6 separate regions of the Homo sapiens genome follow, and all the other regions are linked to region 1. The links are contacts of gene promoters, found by promoter capture Hi-C in blood cells and fetal thymus (Javierre and others, 2016). All regions are on one chromosome and are shown on one strand. The core of a region is centred on a gene start or on the middle of the fragment in contact, and the rest is flanking DNA. Distances in the headings are between cores, read along the strand shown. Region 1 holds the start of CAAP1 (caspase activity and apoptosis inhibitor 1). Region 2 has its middle 4.3 kb from the start of HAUS6. Region 3 overlaps DENND4C (DENN domain containing 4C). Region 4 overlaps DNAJA1 (DnaJ heat shock protein family (Hsp40) member A1). Region 5 has its middle 3.0 kb from the start of APTX. Region 6 overlaps NDUFB6 (NADH:ubiquinone oxidoreductase subunit B6).

The links. The method cuts DNA at HindIII sites, captures the fragments that hold promoters and counts their contacts. A CHiCAGO score of 5 or more calls a contact.
Region 2: a contact is called between a fragment that was not itself captured here and the fragment with the promoter of CAAP1 in region 1, in 2 of 17 cell types (activated CD4 T cells and naive CD8 T cells). The highest score is 9.0, in activated CD4 T cells.
Region 3: a contact is called between a fragment that was not itself captured here and the fragment with the promoter of CAAP1 in region 1, in 1 of 17 cell types (total B cells). The highest score is 5.5, in total B cells.
Region 4: a contact is called between a fragment that was not itself captured here and the fragment with the promoter of CAAP1 in region 1, in 1 of 17 cell types (total CD4 T cells). The highest score is 5.1, in total CD4 T cells.
Region 5: a contact is called between a fragment that was not itself captured here and the fragment with the promoter of CAAP1 in region 1, in 5 of 17 cell types (naive CD4 T cells, non-activated CD4 T cells, fetal thymus and 2 more). The highest score is 8.9, in naive CD4 T cells.
Region 6: a contact is called between a fragment that was not itself captured here and the fragment with the promoter of CAAP1 in region 1, in 3 of 17 cell types (non-activated CD4 T cells, total B cells and naive CD4 T cells). The highest score is 10.8, in non-activated CD4 T cells.

The regions. Positions count from the first base shown.
Region 1 is chr9:26,890,804-26,894,372 of GRCh38, forward strand. CAAP1 (caspase activity and apoptosis inhibitor 1) reads right to left here and starts at 1,999. Exons shown (of 6, transcript NM_024828.4): 1 at 1,610-1,999. The coding sequence starts at 1,912. RefSeq lists enhancers at 1,398-1,977, 1,549-1,728, 1,809-2,028, 1,978-2,557, 2,159-2,228. The HindIII fragment of the contact is 2,677 bases long and covers 1-2,463 here.
Region 2 is chr9:19,105,447-19,109,015 of GRCh38, forward strand. It overlaps a transcript of PLIN2 not described here. Among named protein-coding and RNA genes, the nearest start is that of HAUS6, 4.3 kb to the left of the region's middle. The HindIII fragment of the contact is 3,804 bases long and covers 1-3,529 here.
Region 3 is chr9:19,370,659-19,374,227 of GRCh38, forward strand. It overlaps DENND4C (DENN domain containing 4C), which reads left to right. Exons shown (of 33, transcript NM_001330640.2): 32 at 1,098-1,162; 33 at 1,379-3,569. The coding sequence ends at 1,515. Among named protein-coding and RNA genes, the nearest start is that of RPS6, 7.8 kb to the right of the region's middle. The HindIII fragment of the contact is 2,119 bases long and covers 820-2,938 here.
Region 4 is chr9:33,031,111-33,034,679 of GRCh38, forward strand. DNAJA1 (DnaJ heat shock protein family (Hsp40) member A1) reads left to right here. Exons shown (of 9, transcript NM_001539.4): 6 at 3,106-3,220. Among named protein-coding and RNA genes, the nearest start is that of DNAJA1, 7.6 kb to the left of the region's middle. The HindIII fragment of the contact is 7,193 bases long and covers 1-3,569 here.
Region 5 is chr9:33,002,877-33,006,445 of GRCh38, forward strand. It overlaps a transcript of APTX not described here. Among named protein-coding and RNA genes, the nearest start is that of APTX, 3.0 kb to the left of the region's middle. The HindIII fragment of the contact is 833 bases long and covers 1,339-2,171 here.
Region 6 is chr9:32,553,055-32,556,623 of GRCh38, forward strand. NDUFB6 (NADH:ubiquinone oxidoreductase subunit B6) reads right to left here. Exons shown (of 4, transcript NM_002493.5): 4 at 1-890. The coding sequence ends at 822. It also overlaps a transcript of SMIM27 not described here. Among named protein-coding and RNA genes, the nearest start is that of TOPORS, 2.3 kb to the left of the region's middle. RefSeq lists an enhancer at 1-20. The HindIII fragment of the contact is 3,131 bases long and covers 143-3,273 here.

The sequences.
Region 1 (3,569 bases), core at 749-3,248:
GCGTCGTGGCGGGCGCCTGCAGTCCCAGCTACTCGGGAGGCTGAGGCAGGGGAATGGCCTGAACCCGGGAGGCGGAGCTTGCAGTGAGCCGGGATCACGCCACTGCACTCCGGCCTGGGCAACAGAGCGAGACTCCGTCTCAAAAAAAACAAAAAAAAAGAAACACATACATGAAAGTAAAAATACTGAATTCCAGCCAAGTACAACAAACTCAACAAACCAAACAGCACTTGTCCCAAGACTCCAAAGACTGTTCAACATCAACTAACTTATCAACAAATTACATTATCTGACTAAAGGAGAAAAAGTATGTGATCATCTCAACAGAATGCCAGAAAACCACCTGATAAAATCTCTACATAAACTGTTTCTACTCTACCAAAGAGAATAATGAGCAGAGGATATGTACAGAAAATTACATAAGAAGAAATCAAATGGCAAATAAAAATATTAAAATGTTCAATCTCACTAATAAGGAAAATAAAAATTAAAACAAACTATTAATTTGACCCACTAGTCTGGCAATTTTTTTAAAAAATGCCATCAAAATGTCATCAAAAGCTAGTTAAGAATCTCAGAAATAGGTATTCTTATATATATACTGTTTGGACTATAAATCTGTAAAGTCTCATTTGGAAAGCATTTGGTGGCATTCATAAGTTTTTAATAGCATAAACTTTGACCCAGGAATTTCAGTTCTCACACTCTCTCCCAACATAACTCTTGTAGGAGATATATACATAAAGGTGTTTGTATTGTAGTCACAACAATACAAAAAAACCTGCACACCCAAATATCAGAAAAATATAATACAATACCAGGCAGTCAGTAAAAATAACAAACCACGTATATAAAGAAGCCTATCACAACAATGCAGGTATTCAACAGCGGGAATAACACAATACAGCTTAAGTGTAGGAACTTAAAAACACGTATCTCACGAGGAGTGATTAAAAGAGGCCGCGTATCAAAATACTAATGGAGGGGCAAGAAAAGGGACTTGACGCTTTCCCTTTATTTCCTCATTGAATGAATTTAAAGTACCTATTCATTCATTTGTTTTCAAACAAATTATGAACTTTTTTAAAACGGCGTTCTCTTGGCAGACTGGTGGCGTATAAAGAACATGGCTTTTGTAGTCAGATATTTGGATTCAAACCTAGGAGCTATTAACAAACTCTGTGACCGTGGGTAAAGTTTAACTTCTTTGGGCCTCAATTTTCTTATCTCTAATGCGGAGTTAACCATATCTACGAAAAGGTGAAGACGAAGGGAGAAGTGTTTGGCTCGCAAGGGAAATGAAGGCTAGCTTCCAACTCGTATTCTTCCGGCAGAGTGAAACCATAGGAGTGGAAGGAGCCAAGAGTTTAAAAAATAAATTAAAAAAAAAGTGATCAGGAAATCCAGAAACTTGAAGTTCAAGATTCAAGACACGGATGGGAGTGTGGGGCTCACCAGGACTTAGGTAGGAACATGAACCTCAAGGACGGACGACCTTGAGATTGCCGCGCTAGCAGTGAGCTCCAGCCTGCGCCCCATCCCTCTGGAAGCCCGACTTCTTCCGAAAAAGCAGCAGCTCCAGGAAGCGGCCAGAGGGGCGCGCACGCACCTGCTGCAAGGAGCCCGAGACGCTGGAAGAGTCGGTACTCCTCCGCTTCCGGCGCTCGCTGCGCTCCACGCTGCTCCCGCCCCAACAGCTGCCGCCGCTCCCACCGCCGGTGACACTTCCACTAAAATTGGCGTTCCCACAGCAGCTGACGCTCCCGCAGCCCCCGGCGCTCCCGCAGCCGCTAGTGCTTCCACTGCTGCCGCTGGCCAACGCGGGTACGATGTCCGGGGCCGCGAGCGCTGCGGCCGCCTCCTGACTGCTACGTTTGCGCCGTTTCTCCCGGGAGGACTTTTTCCCCGTCATGATCCCTCTGCTGCAACCATCGGAGGAAAGTCCGCTGTCTCTGGTGCGACCGAAGCCCGACTCCTGCGGCCGTGGGCGGCAGGCACTGGCGTCGCAGGTTATGCGTCACTTCCGGCCGTGGCACAGAACGTGGTGAAGCGTTATGGGCCGGGGTGGCAGGGGGGTTGCCATAACCAGTTGCGCTTCCCCCTCCGGTCGCGGAGGTCGATTTGAGTGTGTAGCGGGTAGCCTGTCTAGTCAGAGTTTGTTTTGTTTTGTTTTTATATCTCTACAAAGGATAGAAGGTGGAACTTACGTCCTTTTAACTTCAAAACTTTTTATTGTTAGTGTTTTGTCTGTTTACAATAAGGTTGAAGTATAGTTGCTGATTCTCCATTTCCGTTTACCTCCAAATCTTAAGATATTAACAACGCTATGACAATAAAGAGAATAGGGAAAAGTTGTTCCATCTCATTTTCCTCATCACCTGGGCAAATTAGGTATTTCTTGCGTAGAGTCTGACATGGACAAGTAGAGCTTGAGTTCGTTTTTGAAAATTGAGAATGGGTCAAAGCTTTATGAGATTTTATGGGTGGATGTAATCTAAATAGAAGGCAGATTTTAAGACAAGGGAGCTAGAACACTTAAAACGTGAACCAAGGTCTTTGTCGTTTCAGCAGGGGCCTTTAGCCACTGAGGGAAAAAGGTAGAGCCTGGGGCAAAGCTAGCTGGGTGGTAGTAATTCTGTGCCTTTCCCTGGGGTAAGAAGCAATTAAAGAAGCTTCCCTTCTCTTTGTCTCCTATTTGTCTCAGTCATTCAACAACTACTTAAATGCCTAAAACCAGCCTAGGGTTAATAAATAGGGACACTTCCAGCCCTAGGAAAACTGTCTTCCCCCAGGCCCCACTCTTAAATTGGCCTTGTAAGGTAAATCCTGGGGCTGAGCCCACTGTGTTCCCAGGAGTTCCGTTAAGTATCACACTCATTGGAGTCATACCTGAAAGGATTGAGAGTGTTGTGTTCACAGATAGGAAAAACACATAAAATTAATAACATGTTACATTTATAAACCTGTTATGAATTGTGTCCCTGAAACCATCATAATTTTAATAAAACTAAATTGCTAGATTTTTTCTTTTTTCTTTTTTTTTTTTTTGAGACGGAGTTTCACTCTCGTTGCCCAGGCTGGAGTGCAATGGCACAATCTCGGCTCACTGCAACCTCCGCCTCCCGGGTTCAAGCATTTCTCCTGCCTCAGCCTCCTGAGTAGCTGGGACTACAGGCATGCGCCACCATGCAGGGCTAATTTTGTATTTTTAGTAGACAAGGGGTTTCTCCATGTTGGTCAGGCTGGTCTCGAACTCCCGACCTCAGGTGATCCACCCGCCTCAGCCTCCCAAAGTGCTGGGATTACAGGCGTGAGCCATCGTGCCCTGCCAAATTGCTGGATTTGTGACAAAAGATAAGCTTTTAGTAGAAGCATAGCTAAACGTTAACCAACTTTTCCTATAGCCCACTTCCTTATAGCTGCTTATTGCTTTATAGATATCTTTGACTCGGTTAAGAAATCTCAAGTTTTCCATTTTGAGATATTTACCAGATTCTGTACTCCAATGGTGTTACAGAAGTTAAGAAATTATTTTAGGCAGATAGAGAGGTAAAGGGGTCTTTGGGAAG
Region 2 (3,569 bases), core at 378-2,877, 7.8 Mb before region 1:
GGTTTATTCTGAGCCAAATATGAATGACCATGGCCTGAGGCACAGTCTCAAGAGTTCCTGAGAACATGTGCCCAAGATGATGGGGCTATAGCTTTGTTTTATACAGTTTTAGAGAGACATAAGACATCAATCAATACACGTGACGTATACATTGGTTCTGTACAGAAAGGTGAGGCAACTCAAAGTGGTGGGTTCAGGTCATAGGTGGACTCAAAGATTTTCTGATTGGGGCGGATGTGATGGCTCACACCTGTAATCTCTACACTTTGGGAGGCCGAGGCAGACGGATCACTTGAGGTCAGGAGTTTGAGACCAGCCTGGCCAACATGGTGAAACCCCATCTCTACTAAATATACAAACATTAGCCGGGCATGGTGGTGCGCACCTGTAATCCCAGCTACTCGGGAGGCTGAGGCAGGAAAATCGCTTGAACCCGAGAGGCTGAGATTGCAGTGAGCCGAGATCACACCACTGAACTCCAGCCTGGGCGACTGGGTGAGACTGTGTCTCAAAACAAAACAACAACAACAACAACAACAAAGATTTTATGATTGCCATTGGTTTAGAGTCAAGCTACTATCTAAAGACCTGGAATCCATAGAAAAGTTTCTAGGTCAAGATAAGTGGTTGTGGACACCAGGGTTAGTATGAAGTCTCATAGGTGGCCACCCAAAAGTACTAGAAGCTGGATGCGGTGGCTCACACCTATAATCCCAACACTTTGGGAGGCTGAGGCTGTGGATTGCTTCAGCCCAGGAGGCAGAGGTTTCAGTGAGCCCACATCATGCCACTGCACACCAGCCTGGGCAACAGAGCAAGACCCTGTCTCAGAAAAAAAAAAAAAATTTAGGCTAGACACAGCGGCTCACACCTGTAATCCTGCATTTTGAGAGGCCAAGGCAGGCAGATCACCTGAGGTCAAGAGTTCAAGACCAACCCAGCCAACATGGTGAAACCCCATCTCTACTAAAAAGACAAAAATTAGCTAGGCATGGTGGCAGACGCCTGTAGTCCCAGCTACTTGGGAGGCTAAGGCAGGAGAATCCCTTGAACCCAGGAGGCAGAGGTTGCAGTGAGCTGAGATCACATGCCACGCCACTGTACTCCAGCCTGGGTGACAGAGCAAGTATTGGATCCTCAGTTAATCTCTTCAGGATTGGGAGGGCCTGCCAGGGGAAAGATCTACTTATTTATTTATGAGACGGAGTCTCACTCTATCGCCCAGGCTGGAGTGCAGTGGCGCCATCTCTGCTCAGTGCAACGTCTGCCTCCTGGGTTCAAGTAATTCTCCTGCCTCAGCCTCCCAAGTAGCTGGGATTACAGGCATGCGCCACCATGCCCAGCTAATTTTTGTATTTTCAGTAGAGACGGGGTTTCACCGTGTTGGCCAGGCTGGTCTGGAACTCCAGACCTCAGGTGATCTGCCTGCCTCGGCCTCCCAAAGTGCTGAGATTACAGGCGTGAGCCACCAGCCAGCTTCTTTACAGATGTAGATTTCTCCCCATAAGCGACGACGTTGCAGGACCATTTCAAAATATAACAAAGAAACATATTTTGGGAAAAAATATTTTGATTTCCTTCTTTATCTGTCATGTGATATTATGCTAGTCAGGTTGGAAAGTAAGCTGGGTTATATAGGCTTCAACAAAACCCATCTGATGAGATTTTTATGGCTTGTAGGACATGACTCCCCAAGTTCTGTAGATAGGAATTTGGACAAGAAAGAAAAAAGATCAGAGTTTAGTTCTCACTCACTAGGCCTCATTCTAAGATTTGGCAGCTAGGCGCAGTGGCTCATGCCTGTAATCCCAGCACTTTGGGAGGCCAAGGCAGGAGGATCACTTGAGGCCAGGAATTCCAGGCTAGGCTGGTATTCTTCTGCCTCAGCCTCCTGAGTAGCTAGGATTACAGGCGTCCACCACCACACCTGACAAATTTTTGTATTTTTAGTAGAGACAGGGTTTCACCATGTTGGCCAGGCTGGTCTGGAGCTCCTGACCTCAAGTGATCTGCCCGCCTTGGCCTCCCAAAGTGTTGGGATTACAGACGTGAGCCACTGTGCCCAGCCTAATTTTTTAAGGTTTTTTGTTATAGAGAGAAGGTCTTACCATATTGCCCACACTGGTCTGGAACTCCTGGGCTCAAGTGATTCTCCCACCTTGGCCTCCCAAAGTGCTGGGATTCTAAGTGTGAGCCACTGCCCCCGGATTGCTTCTACAGTTTACTCCCTTAACTAATACTTTTTTTTTTTTTTTTTTTGAGATGGAGTCTCACTCTGCCACCCAAACTGGAGGGCGGTGGTGTGATCTTGGCTCACTGCAACCTCTGTCTCCTGGGTTCAAGCAATTCTCCTGCCTCAGCCTCCTGAGTAGCTGGGATTACAGGCCTGTGCCACCACAGCCCGGCTAATTTTTTTTTTTTTTTTTTTTTTTTGTATTTTTAGTAAAGACGGGGTTTCACCATGTTGGCCAGGCTGGTTTCAAACTCCTGACCTCAAGTGATCCACCCGCCTTGGCCTCCCAAAGTGCTGGGATTACAGGCAACTAATACTTAATGCGGCTCTGTGCCAGGCACTGCTTTATGCTTTTCACAAATGTTAACTATTTAATCTTCAGAGCAAACTTAGCCCTATTCCTGTTTTACTGATGAAAAAAATGAGGCATAGAGAAATTAAGTAACTTGCTGAAGGTCACACAGTAAGCAGCAGAGCCAGATTACAACCCAGAGTCTGAGCCCTTACCCATCATGCTATGCTTCCTCCCAGGTGACCTGCTTTTAGTCACATGCCCATCACTAGGCTAAGGGAAAGCAAAAACCTTGACCACTATACCCACTGAGACCTTCAAAAGAAGCATGAATGAATCATGGGAGACCAAAAGACAACAAATGTTCACTATACCAGTGGGAAAAAAAATCATGAAGTCAAGATTATACAGCCCAATTTTCATTATAAGTATTTCAGCAATTAAACTTTAATTATATTAAATGATTATATGACACAGAACTAGGATCTCTTACAAAAGTTTAGATCAGAGTGTCATTGCAATTAAGACCAATGTAGCCAAAAAATAGATTAACACTCTTCAAAGTCACAGGAATAAAAACAGGAAGTTTAATGTAATACAAATTGCGTATTCAACCAAAAGGGGTATTTTATTGTTGTTAGTTATTCAACATCTTGCCCTGAGAGGACAGGGCCATTAGCATGTGAATTATTTGATCCGTTCTCCTCTTCCAAAGCTATAATATCTGGAATTTCATCAGTCTCAGATGTCAAGTCTATGGTGGTGAAATCAAACACCTGTAAAAGAAGAATCTTGGATATTGAAACAAACACCGATGAAGTGAGTTGTCAGGTCCATCTGAGCTCATGGAGACTTTAGTGCATGTAGGTGAACCTTGCTTTGTCCATAGCTGTGCTTTTTGAAAAGATGTTTGTGGTCTTATTCCTGCAATTCCCTCATACTATAAAAGCACTAAGGAAACCTTTTAAAAAGGAAACTAACTAGTGGTGGAACCTAGTCAATGAAGCTTTTTTAAAAAATACCAGATATAAAGCATTTTTTGTT
Region 3 (3,569 bases), core at 629-3,128, 7.5 Mb before region 1:
TAGGAGCAGAAACAATGTAGCAAAGAGATAGACGCAGTGAACTACAAAGGATATGGAGTTATTGTGCTCCTGTCACTATTGTCTGCTAATATGCTCAGATTAGTACTCATCCCCTCCTCAACATAAGTGAATTTTGCAGTAGAAGCTTCAGAATAGTGTGCGTAATCGCGTATATCAAACATTCCTAATGTTTCCATGGTCCCCTTCAAGTTTTTTAGGTCATGGCATCTTTGAAGATAATCTCAGAAGTGACAGGGCAAGAATTGATAATGAAAATGGATGGATCCATTTTTACTATCAGTAGTTGAGGTAGAGATGACCTTCTTCACAGTCTGTAATATGAGTAGCTTGCTTCAAGCATCTGTAGTTTAAGGACAGGAATGTAATATTAGAAATGTCATATTATGGCTTCTGAAGCTTCTAAAGAAAGTGATACCAAGTGTCACTAGAATCAGCCTTACGTCTTTTTTTTCTCTGTACATCAGTGCATTTCTTAAGTTTTCCTGTCATCTTTAACAACTGAGTCATGAAGCTCACTTTTAGTGTTTCATTTGTAACATTTTAATGCTCACAAACCAAATAAAGGTGAACTGTCCTTTGCTATTGGGTTAAATAGTAAAGAGACCACACCACCTTTTACATTGTTTGTGTCAAGGGTTTTAGACCCCTAACTTACTTAGAAATTAATCTGTTACTTTGTCAAGTGACAAAAGATGAGAGAAGACTCTGCTTTTGTAAATTTTATTTAGAAATTAGAGTTAAAACAGTTATGTATTGTTGAAATGTAATAAAGTTAAGCCATTTTTGTTACTAGTGTGAAGCTTTATGCCCATTAACTATGTTTTAACTTTAATTTGGAATAGAAACCTGCAGGAAGTTACAAAAATAGTACAGAATTCAATGTAGCCTTCACACAGCTTCCTCCAAATGTGACACCTCATATAACTAACTGTAATGTAATATTAAAACCAGGACATTGACATAGTTATATTACTATTAACTAGATGACAGAACTTAATGTCTTCACCATTAAAAAAAATGCATCTGTGTTTTTATGCTATTTGCCCATTGACTTTTAAAACATATTTGTTTTATAGGAGTTTATACAGAGAAATCCTCTTCTTATCATTAGTGTCTCTAGGAAGAGAGAATATTGATATTGGTAAGTTGGTTAATAAAAGATTATGAAAGGAAGTTTTACATTTTATTTTCAAAAGTAATTTTTAAAAATGTAGCTGGTATGTATAAAAGATTTAAAAGATTTCTACTTCTAAATATATAGTTCAAATACATATAATTTGACTCAATACCAATTTGAAATGAACGGCTGTTGTCTTTCTTAACAAATTACAACTTCATTTTTGAAAATTTCTTTCAGAGGCATTTGACAATGAATATGGAATTGCATACAATAGTCTGTCTTCAGAGATTCTTGAAAGGTTGCAGAAAATTGATGCTCCACCAAGTGCCAGTGTCGAGTGGTGCAGGAAGTGTTTTGGAGCGCCTCTCATTTAAATAGAGATTCACTAGAATGTTGACACACAAGGCTTGGGGATTAGATTTCATCTGGAAACATTCAAGTTTTTTTTTCCAAATCGTAAGAACTGGTGAATACGGAATTGAAGTAACTCTTGGGGACAATATATAATGAATTATGATTCATATTGCATTACCTTGAAATATGAAGTGCCATTTGAATGTCCCAGGGCTTATTAATATTGAAGATTTTCAACCCCTGAACTGCTTTTCTGCCTCTGTGGAAAACTACTTTGGGATTCTTCAGTATTTGTAGTAGTTTGATAGAAATAATGAGGAACCATATTCATTCTAGGCATTGTTTATATTTGAAGTTACTGAGTTTGAGGAATGGCAAATTAAATTTGCCTAACCCCCAAAACAAATGAAATATCTCAATTATAAAAGCAACATGGCCGGGCACGGTGGCTCAGGCCTGTAATCCCAGCACTTTGGGAGGCTGAGCAAGGTGGGTGGATCACTTGAGGCCAGGAGTTCGAGACCAGCCTGGCCAACACGGTGAGACCCTGTCTTTACTAAAAATACAAAAATTAGCCAGGCGCACCACTGTAGTCCCAGCTACTCAGGCTGAGGCAGGAGAATCGCTTGAACTGAGGCAGAGGCTACAGTGAGTGGAGATCACGCCACTGCAACTCCAGCTTGGGTGACAGAGTGAGACCGTCTCAAAAAAAAAAAAAAAAAAAAAAGAGAGCAACATATTTGTGTAAGTTTGTATATGTGTAGGGCTGTGTAGGTATGTGTATATACAGCCATATTCTAAGTGTATATTTATTAAAATAGATTGCATGTTGCAATACGGTTTTCTGAAAGGGGTCTCATTGACTATTAAATAAATGACTACTACTAAACTTGTCTGTAGTCATTAATCTTAAAATTACCTGAAAATCTGATGACAGCTGCCTTCCCTAACTTTAATGTATTAGGTTGGCACAAAATTAATTGTAGTTTTTGCCACTATTAATGGCAAAAACCGCAATTATTTTTGTACCAACATAATACACCTTTCATATTATGTATTATCTTGCTTAATGGGTTTTATCTTGATTATCCAGTTACTTCCATCCTCTTCCCAATGTTAATTTGCAATAGTTTTAAAATGGGAACAAATGAATCAATCATCAGATAGTTAAAATGAAATTAAATCAGCTGCCTAATAATTTATGGAATTCATTGGAATGTGCTTAAAATGCTAAAGTGTATGTCATTGAACATGAAATCTTTTTTCAGGCACATACATTGTTGGTATTGATGACTTTTTAAAACCTGTGGGATAAACTTGCACTGCACACGGAAGTTTTATTCTTGTATATTTAGATTTGTATGCTTGTGAGTAAAAATGTGCATTTGTAAATACTGTGTTTTTAGGTTGAATCAATTAAGTCTTAAAACTGTAAATTTATTAAGCTTGTTGCCAGTAGGTTTAAGAAAATCATGATCTCACATGCCTCACTTTGACATTTATCATGCCTTTTATTAAAAATATCCCTTAGGAACAGTAAGTTTGCCTTAACTCTCTGCATGGTTTAAAAAGCCATTGGTTTTGTGTGTGTTTACAGTAATTATGCAGATGACTAAATGAGTTGACACAGTAAAATTACTTCCATATGGTACAGTAACAACCTAACTCCCTTCTACCTGATGTAACCATTTACAAATTATAGTTATTGTACCAGTCTTTCAACATTTCAGGGTTAATCTGACCTATGCAGAATTCTAGTGTGAATTTATTGTGAAAATGCTAAATGAAACAATTTGTCAGAAATTATGTACAATTTTCATTACCTTCAAAATGGATCTTTTGCACTGTCTGAGAGTATATATTTTTGCAACTCAAGACTTGGTACTAGTTTTAATACTTAACACTTACTGACCCAACAGAAGTTTGGAATTACCTTGCATATAAAAATTGAGGTTGAATAAAATGAAAAATTGTTGTTTTCTGTTACATTAAGCCTCTTGAAATCTGTAATCTTTAGAATCCCAATATTTTGTTTTTTCCATTCCTTCACTCGTAACTTGAACTCAAGTTTTCA
Region 4 (3,569 bases), core at 749-3,248, 6.1 Mb after region 1:
GGAGACGGAGTTTCGCTCTTGTTTCCCAGGCTGGAGTGTGCAATGGCACGATCTCAGCTCATTGCAACCTCTGCCTCCCGGGTTCAAGCAGTTCTTCTGCCTCAGCCTCCCAAGTACCTGGGATTACAGGCACCCAGCACCATGCCCGGCTAATGTTTTGTATTTTTAGTAGAGACGGGGTTTCACCATGTTGGCCAGGCTGATCTCGAACACTTGACCTCAGGTGATGACCTGCCTCGGCCTCCCAAAGTGCTGGGATTACAGGCATGAGCTACCGCACCCCGCCTCATGTTTATTTTTTAAACCAATGGGCATGTTTTTGTTTGTTTGTTTTTTTCTGAGGTAGAGTCTTGCTCTGTTGCCCAGGCTTGAGTGCAGTGATGCGATCTTGGCTCACTCTAACCTCTGCCTCCTGGGTTCAAGCGATTCTCCTGCCCCAGCTTCCCAGGTAGCTGGGACTACAGGTGTGCACCACCACACCTGGCTAATTTTTTTTGTATTTTTAGTAGAGATGGGGTTTCACCATGTTAGGCTGGTCTCAAACTCTTGACCTCAAATGATCTGCCTGCCTTGGCCTCCTAAAATGCTGGGATTACAGGTGTGTGCCACCATACCTGGCCTGGGCTAGTTTAAATAAGCGTATTGGCCCACTTAATTGGCTTACTTGCCCATCTATTATATTTAAATGCTCCGTTAATTGATTTGATAGACTACCTTTCATTTTTTTAGACTTGACACTTCCCTAACCCATTGGGCTCCAGATTTAGAAATAACTATATAACCTTTTTTTTGTATTCTCGGGATTTGATTGATTTGTCAATTTTTAAATTTTACTCTTGTCAACTTGCAAAAACATTTTAAAATGTATTACAGCAATACACTGCAGAAATTTTAAGAAATGTATATAACCCCAGAAGGAAACTTAAGTCAACATTATGGTAATCTCTTTTCAGATTTTGCTGTTTATAAATGGGTCTACTATTATACTGTACTGTGGTATGATACCAATCTGGAACTGTTAATATTTGAACATATTTCCATATTAATATACAAATCTACATTAACATAAGTGGCTGCAATAGGATTCTATCATGTGACTCATGATACTGGCCTCTCTGACCCCCAGGGTTCCACCCAAGAATGTAGTACATTGAAAGGTAAAAATAAGTTTCCTTGGCCAGTTGTTGAACTTAATAAATCTGTGTTTACCCCTTAGTGGGCCCATGCCTAAGGTTTATACTTTGAGGTGTTCTTGATACCAATAGCATACAGAGTAAGTCTTAACGTTGTTGATAGGTTCTTGGAAACTGGGACTTCTAGCAGAATGACCTCAAATAATGTCATGCAGGTCCTCAAATAATGTCATGTCACTGTAACACAGCTGAGGGGAAAAAAATTGGTCTTGTTATGTGTCATTTCATTTAAAGCAATTTCCAAGAACCTATCAACAATGGACTGTAAGTGAGAACTTGAAATTAATGCCCTAACTATATAGCAAGTGAAGGCATTTGTGCTGTGCCTACTCTTACTCTGTATTCAGGAAAACCTAGCTGAGTTTAATTGCTTCCCTAGCATAACAAGTTATTTTGCCTCAATACACGATTAAAGACAGATTGTTTAATTTTGTCAGTGTATGATACTGATAGCGCTTTAAGTCCTTATTTAAGAGGTACGTACTGAAGTATTTGTGGGTTAATGGATATAGTTGGAGTTTGCTTGAAAGTATATGTGGGGGGCATGCGTAGGGGTGTAATACATGAAATATTAGTCATGAGTTAGTAACTGCTGAAGCCAAATTGGATGGATATGTAGGAATTCATTGTACTGTTGGCTCTGTTTATACAGGATTAATATTTTCCATACGTAAAGGTGAAACATGATTGCTCTGTTAGGTAACCAGAGTGATCTTGGGAAATAATCAGGAGATAACTGCTTTGGTGTAATACTCTACAAACACAGGTTTTCTTACATGAGTTATGTTCTAAGAGACGTTGCCCAAACCCTTACTGAACTAAAATATGTGGGTCAGAGGTGAGGGGCACGAAGTCTCAGTTTAAAAAAAAAAAAAAAGGCGTGTTTTTTTGCCCTGTTAGAAAATACTCCTCCCCTTGTATTTTACGGACCACATGGGCTAAGGGAGTGTCTAGCACTGATTGTTTTGTTTGCTTGTTTAATTTAAATGAGACAAGGTCTGGAACTCCTGTGCTCCAGGGTGCTATCCTCAGGGTATCCTCCTGACTCGGCCTCTCAAAGTATAATTACCCTTTTTTTAAGGGGACTATACTGAATAGTTCTTTAAAATACGGATTTTCAGGCACAGGGGCTCAGGTCTGTAATCCGAACACTATAGGATGCCGAGGCAGGATCCCTTGAGCCCAGTAGTTCAAGACCAGCCTGAGCGACATGAGAACCCCCATCTCTATTAAAAAAAAAAAAATTCAAAAATTAGCTGGTCTGTGGTCCTGGCTACTCGGGAGGCTGAGGTGGGAGGATCACTTGAGCCCAGGAGATGGAGGCTGCAGTGAGCCATGTTTGTGCCACTGCACTCCAGCCTAGGCAACAGAGCAAGATCCTATCTCAAGAGAAGATTATAGATTTAAAATTTTTTTAGTTTTATATATAAATACTACAATAGAAGGGTCTTGATTTACATTGCTGTTAGACTTTTAATAGAAGTAATTTGATGTGTTATAAGTAATGAAACTGAAATACTTAATTAACATTTTTTGGTTATAACCAGTGTTAGCCAGTCATGGTTTAGTACCAGCATATACCTGTTGAGTTAATACTCTAAATATTGCTAATGAGGTGTAGGTGTCTGTGGGAAAGTTGAAACTTGGAAAGGATATGCAGCTTACTTCCCCAGGGTAATCCAGCCAGTGAATAGCAGCTCTGAGATTTGAAGGCTAGTCTCTTTGCCTCTGGAGTTTGTGTTCTCCACTATGATACCTTTCTTCAGGAGCAAATTGGACTGAACTACTTAAGTGGGCTTTCTTAGTCATTTCTGTGATTTTTATGCATAAACAAACATCTATGTATAGATTTTATGATTCTGACCTTAGTTGGATATTTAATAAAAGTACAAAATTAATGTTTTGTTTTTAGGCATGAAAGATGGCCAGAAGATAACATTCCATGGTGAAGGAGACCAAGAACCAGGACTGGAGCCAGGCGATATTATCATTGTGTTAGATCAGAAGGACCATGCTGTTTTTACTCGGTAAAGACTTTTATCAACCACTCAAATTGATATCACATATTTGGGTTGTTGGTTTTGTTTTTTGTTTTTTTGTTTTTTTTAAAGTGTTTTCCATTACTCTTAGAACCTATTTCTCAGGAAGATTGTTAACCATTGTTCAGATCATAAGAGGTTGAATACATAGGATCAGATTTTTAGCTTTTTGTCTCTAAGTATGGAACGTTGAAAATGTGTTTCAATTAGATGTTTTGTGTGAACCTAAGCAGCAGATGGGTGGGGAAAACATCCCTGGACAAAAATTTGCCCTCAATCTTTGTAAAGCAATTTAAGTGCCTTAAAGCTCTCACCAGTTTTCAATCTCATTTATGAT
Region 5 (3,569 bases), core at 505-3,004, 6.1 Mb after region 1:
TTCAAGACAGAAGGTGGGAGGATCTTCCAAGAAACACAGAGGACAGGCTTGCTTTTGTTAGCAGAGAAGATGCAGGTTTATATTAGGGTCATATAAGGAAGTGGGAAAACACAAGCAGCATCTCAGCAGCCACACAGGCCTTACAGCTGAGGAATGTTGTTCACAACTGCCCAAGATAAAAAGAGGCAACTCTGGTGACCTGACCAGTTTTGTTGTTCCCTCAATTAAGCATCCCTCTCGGTTAAGGGTGCTTCTTTGACCTGCCTTTGTGTGTCTTGCATCCAAAAGTTGGATTGGATCATTCTAATTACATCATTCACTATATAATGTGCAAAATTGGGCAGAGTTTCCACGTCCTGCTTGTTAGGCCTAGTCCATTGTCTATAGTGTATTAGTGGCCAGAAAAGCAAGATCACATGGCACAATGTATAGCTAAAGGTATGGCAGGCAGTGAAGACTTTCAGGCACTTCATATTGCCATGCTAATCACCAGAACTTTTTCATCTTGAAAAACTGAAACTCGGCCAGGCACGGTGGCTCACACCTGTAATCCCAGCACTTTGGGAGGCCAACGCAGGTGGATTACCTGAGGTCAGGAGTTCAAGACCAGCCTGGCGTGGCGGAACTCGCCTGTAGTCCCAGCTACTTGGGAGGCTGAAGCAGAAGAATTGCTTGAACCCGGGAGGTAGAGGTTGCAGTGAGCCAAGATCACTCCACTGCACTCCAGCCTGGGCGATAGAGCAAGACTCTGCCTCAAAAAAAAAACTCCGTATCGATTAAATAGCTCCCTATTTTCCCTCCCCCACCTGGCAACCACCATTCTACTTACAGTTTTCATGAGTCTGACCACTCTAGGTACCTCATGTAAGTAAAATCAGACAGTATTTGCCCATTTGCGACTGGCTTATTTCACTTAATATAATGTCCTCAAGTTTCATCCACATTGTATCATGTGTAAAAAGTTCCTTTTTAAAGCTGAATAACACTCCATTGCATGTACACACCATACTTTATCCATTCATCCACCCGTGGATATTCCACCATTTGGCTATTGTGAATAATGCTGCTATGAACATGAGTGTATAAATATCTCTTTGAGATCCTGTTTTCACAATTTGCAATTGCAAGAACATGGAACCAACCTAAATGCCCATGAACTGATGAATGCATAAAGAAAATGTCGTACATATACACCACAGAATACTACTCAGCCATAAAGAAGAATGAAATAATGTCTTTTGAAGCAACTTGAATGGAACTGGAGGCCATTTTTCTAAGTGAAGTAACTCAGGAATGGAAAACCAAATACCACATGTTCTCACTTATAATTGGCAGCTAAGCTTTGGGTATGTAAAGGCATACAGAGTGGTATAATGTTCATTGGAGATTCAGAAGTGGAGAGAGTGGGAGGAAGATGAGAGATTTTAAAAAACTACATATTGGGTGTAACTATTACTCGGGTGATAGGTACACTAAAATTTCAGACTTCACCATTATACACTTCATCCATGAAACCAAAAACCATTTGTACCCCTAAAGCCACTGAAATTTGTTTTTAATGTGAAACAATTTTTAAAAATTCTTCTTTCAATTATTTTGAATATATACACAGAAGTGAAACTGCTGGATTATATGGTAATTCCATTTTTAATATTTTGAGGAACTGTCACACTGTTTTCCATAGCAGCTGGATGATTTTACATTTCTACCAATAGTGTACAAGAGTTCCAATTTCTCCACATTCTTGCCAACCCTTTTTTTTTTTTTTTTTTTTGAGATGGAGTCTCGCTCTGTCACCCAGGCTGGAGTGCAGTGGTGCAATCTCGGCTCCCTGCAACCTCCACCTCGCGGCTTAAGGCGATTCTCCTGCCTCAGCCTCCTGAGTAGCTGGGACTACAGGTGCCTGCCACCACACCCGGGTAATTTTTGTATTTTTTTTTTTTTTAGAAGAGATGGGGTTTCACCATATTGGCCAGGCTGATCTCAAACTCCTGACCTTGTGATCCACCCACCTCGGCCTCCCAAAGTGCTGGGATTACAGGTGTGAGCCACTGCGCCCGGCCGCTTGTTACTTTTTTTTGATAGCAGCCATCCTAATGGGTGTGAAATGGTATCTCATTGTGGTTTTGCTTTGTATTTCCCTAATGATTAGTGATGTTGATCTTTTCATAAGCTTCCTGTCTATTTGTATGTATTTGGAGAAATGTCTATTCAAGTACTTCATTTTTTAATGGGGTTATTTTTGTTTTGTTTTGTTGTAGGAGTTCTTTATATATTCTGGATATTGACCTCTGATCAAATATAAGATTCCCATTTCATAGGGTGCTTTTCACTCTGCTTGCTGGCTGTATCCCTGGATGCACAAAACTTAATTGTGAAGTACTTTAATTTACCTATTTTTACTTTTGCTGCCTGTCTTTTGGTGTTATATCCAAGAAAACATTGCCAAATCTGTCATGAAACTTTTCCCTTATGTTTTCTAAGAGTTTTATAGTTTTAGGTCTTATGTTTAGGTCTTTGATCCATTTTTGAGGTGTGGTTTTATTTTTTTGTTTTTTGTTTTTGTTTTTGTTTTTGTGAGACAGAGTCTTGCTCTGTTGCCCAGGCTGGAGTGCAGTGATGCAATCACAGCTTACTGCAGCCTTGACCACCCAGACTCAAACAATCCTCCCACCTCAGCCTCCCAAGTAGCTGGGACTACAAGCATGTCCCACCAAGCCTGGCTAATTTTTTTTTTAATAGAGACAGAGGTCTTGCTATGTTGCCCAGGCTGATCTTGAACTCCTGGGCTCAAGCAATCCTCCTGCCTCAGCCTCCCAAAGTGCTGACATTACAGGTGTGAGACACTGTGCCTGGCCTTGAGTTCATTTTCTGTACTATGTAAGGTAAGGCTCCAACTTCAATTTTTTGCATGTGGATACCCAGATTTTAACAATATCATTTGTTGAAAAGACTGCCCTTTCCTCACTGAATGGTATTGACATACTTACTGAATATCATTTAATCATTTATGCAAGGATTTACTTCTGGGATTTCTATTGTATTCCATCAGTCTGTATGTCTGTCTTTACACTAGTACTGCACTGTTTTGATTACTATAGCTTTGTAATACTTTTTGAAATCAGGAAGTATAAGAACTTTATTCTTTTTTTTTTCAAGATTGTTTTTGGCTACTCTGCTCAGGGTTTTGTTGTTTGTTTGTTTGTTTGTTTGTTTTAATTCCAACAGTTAGAAATGAGATCTCACATGAAAACCTGGATTCTGGCTGGGCTCAGTGGCTCATGTGTGTAATCCCAGCATTTGGGAAGATGAGTCAGGAGGATTGCTTGAGGCCAGGAGTTCAAGATCAGCCCAGCCAACATAGCAAGACCCTCTCTCTATAAAAAAAATTTTAATAAAAAGAATTTTTTTTAAAAATCAGGATTCCTGATCTCTTGGGGGAAAAATCAATAAATCTAGCCAAGTCTAACAACAAATAGCTAGAATTGTGAATAGCTGCCATGTGCTCTCCAGTTTGCCACTGTTTCCACCCACTCACTTATATAACCTGTCTGGCCCCCTGAAAGCCC
Region 6 (3,569 bases), core at 458-2,957, 5.7 Mb after region 1:
AATTTTTCACTTAGAGATTTTAGTATTTTACATTCTCATGACAAAATTAACAGCAACCTAAATCTGACAGTCTTGAGTGTCAGATCATAGTTGGAATAAGCTTTTCAATCAAGTTTCTAAATTCTTCAAAAATGATTCGGAAAGCTTTTTTTTTTTTTGAGACGGAGTCTTGCTCTGTCGCCCAGGCTCAGTGGCACTATCTCGGCTTACTGCAAGCTCCGCCTTCTGGGTTCACACCAATCTCGTGCCTCAGCCTCCGCAGTAGCTGGGACTACAGGAGCCCGCCACCACGCCCGGCTAATTTTTTTGTATTTTTAGTAGGGACGGGGTTTCACTGTGTTAGCCATGATGGTCTCGATCTCCTGACTTCGTGATCTGCCCGCCTCGGCCTCCCAAAGTGCTGGGATTACAGGCATGAGCCACTGCGCCTGGCCGGAAAGATTTCCTTAAAACAAAAGTGCATGGAATTGCTGTTCTTACATTTGTTTATTGTGATATTTCACTGTTGCATACCCTGATACCAAATTAGTGTAAGTACTGTGTAAGAAAAAAACAAACAAACATGTAACTAAATACTTTTCCATACCGTTTTCCAAGTCAAGAATGACCAGAAAAAGTAGGTAGTCTCTCATATTTGTTTAGCATGTCCACTTTTTACTTATTGTTAAATTACTCAGTCTCAAATTGTACAATGCTTGAAAACAGATATGACAATTTCTGAGATTAAACTTTATTAAAGTTACTTTTCCAGAAAATTCAGTAAATATGGTAATATAGGAACAAACTTAGGCTCATAAGCCTTTTAACTTTTTACATAATCTTTAATGATGTTGATCAGGAAATTCTTTCATTGGTGGAATTACTTCTCCAGTCTCCAGAATTGTATCACCCTAGGAAAACAAAGATACAGTTAGTACAAAAATCTTAAGTCTACAGAGGTGATAGTTCTATTCTGTTCTATGTTCATCAGATCTCACATGGAAAATGTACTTGAGTTCTGGCATTCCCTTTAAAAGGACCCTAGACAAAGTAGAAGCTGACTAAATCTGAACAATCAGTATTCAAAATTTTAAGGTATAGTGAAATAATAGGGAAATTTTCACTCAGAAACAAAATAATCAAAAAGGGCACGAAAATTGTGTTCTCTAAGTGATAAAGGGATAATCTTTTATTTTGTATGACCCCAATAAATGGAGGCCCCAGAAAGAAGTTGCAAGGAAACATCTGCAGTTCCAGATAAGGAGGTAATGTACCCCCAGCAACTGAATGTGTTACGCAATCACCAGTTTTCTGATTGGCTTACATACTGAATACAGAATACAAACTTTGGCTAGGCAGCTGGTCCAGATGTCTTTTCAATTCTTGATATAGATGTGGGCAAAAAGGCATGGGCATTGAAGCCAGAACCAAGTGGTAAGAATCTTGGAACCTCCACTGACAAGCTGTATAGTTTTAAGACAGATTATTCAATTTCAGTTTCAGCCATGTGTTTAAGATAGATTCTGTTAGCCTGCCAGTCCCTGAATGACTGGGAAGAGTAGAATTGTCCCCATACCCACCCCAATCCCTGCCATTCCCTGACCTGGTACTGCTCAGGATTATAGTCCAATGAAAAAATAAATATGTTTATGCCATTATACATTTGGGCAACAATTTGTTAGTACAGCTAGCATTATCCCAATAGAAATCATTGCCTTGAAGTGGCACTAATGCTGCTGTAATAAAAATCAAGCTATAGGGCACTGGCTTAGCAGTCTGGTAGCAAAGATAAAGATGGAAACAAAAGGCAGTGGCAAACTATTTAGCAAAATATCTCCTATAACTTGGAAGCTGACTGCCTAATGAACTTGAGGTTCTAGAAGAAGTAGCTGGGAAAAAAAGTTATAGTATGTGTTTGGATCCTTGGGATCCTTGGATGCCTTGGGAATGTACTTTAAGAAGCATGAGCTCAGGCAAAAAGTGGCTGATTTGAGAGGCGACATAAAAATGGAGAGGACGAGAGAACACTTTGGTGCACGCTAGAGACTTTCTGTTCCTGACCAAAAAAAAAAAAAGTTAATAGAATCTAAAAATTTGGGCCAGTCATGGTGGCTCATGCCTGTAATCCCAGCACTTTGGGAGTCCAAGGCAGGAGGATTGCTTGAGGCCCAGAGTTCAAAACCAGCCTGAGCAAGAGTAGGACCCTGTATCTAAAAAATAAATAAAAAATCAGGACCTTGTGGTATTGAAAAATCACACTACTTCAGAATTCCTAAACAATAAGTTAACACAAGAAATCTGAGCAACAGAAGCCCAATAAAACTCAAACAGAGGGACACAGCCCTATGGCAAAGATCAGTTTAAAATGAAGGTAGCCTTTGAACCAGTCTGCCTCAGATGGCCTCCACATAGCTGCCACAGAGGTGAGAGAGGCAGATGCATAAGGACAAAGAAATGAGACAAGCTGGTAACTGTGTATAGGAAAAACAGATACTGGCATGAGACACTGACTAGAAGTAAACACATTAGATGTCTACCAAATATTTTTCTTTTCATGCTTCTAAATGTTAAGGGAAATGGATGGACAAACCAAACATATAGTTTACAGAATCCTGCCAGAATGTTTGAAATTAAAACAACCTCTGGCATTCAACCTCCTGCAAGCAGGTGGCAGATTCTGAAGCCCATACAGCCCCCTAAGGAGGGCATGCTTCCCAATACCATTTAGATGTGGTCTAGGTAGATAATGAAAAGAACAAACCCCCTGGACAGAGCCAGGAACCAGGAAGAACGATGGATAAAGGTGTTCTTTCAAGAAAACAAAATCAGTGCCCATTCAAGTAATTTCTCACACACGGGTTAGGAGTGAGATTTCAGGATTGCCAAGAACCAGTGACTACTATGCTATCCAAATTCTACCACTGAACAATGGGTGTGGTTGGGGGACAAGGATACAGTTAACTTGTCTTCTTAGTTCACTGATCCTCAGATCAACAGAAGTCATATATAAACCTGACATACTATTTTACATCATCTGGAGATCATGGATTTGGGGCCGGGGTGCAATGATGGAATGGGACTTTGGGATTTCTCCCTAAGGAGAGAGACTAAGTGTGTTATGCATGGGTAAAGAAAGAAGCCAAGAGCTGTTTGGTGACTAGAAAGATGGAATGTAGCAGAAACTCCATGAACAGGGGTCTGGGAAATAGCAAAGAGCACACAGATAATATTTGGGAAGATGACAGTGAGTTTTAGCTAACAGAATTTGAGCAGAAGTGATGTAAGCTACTTCTAAGCTTAGATCCTAAAAATCATCCCCTGAGACATCCTGCCGTATCTTTGTATCACAATCTTGGAACCTCATATTCGATAGGCACGGCTGTAAGATTGAGGAAGATCACCTGATTCACAGTAGTCTGTGATGTCAACAAGAAATAAACCTCTGTTTTGTTAAGCCATTGAGATTTGGAAGTTTGTTATTACTTGTCCTATTCTAAACATATATACAATGAGCATTCTTCAGTTCCTCAAAGGGGTCATGGCACAGAAACAAGAAAGAACCACAGTGGCAAAAAATACAGAAATATGAG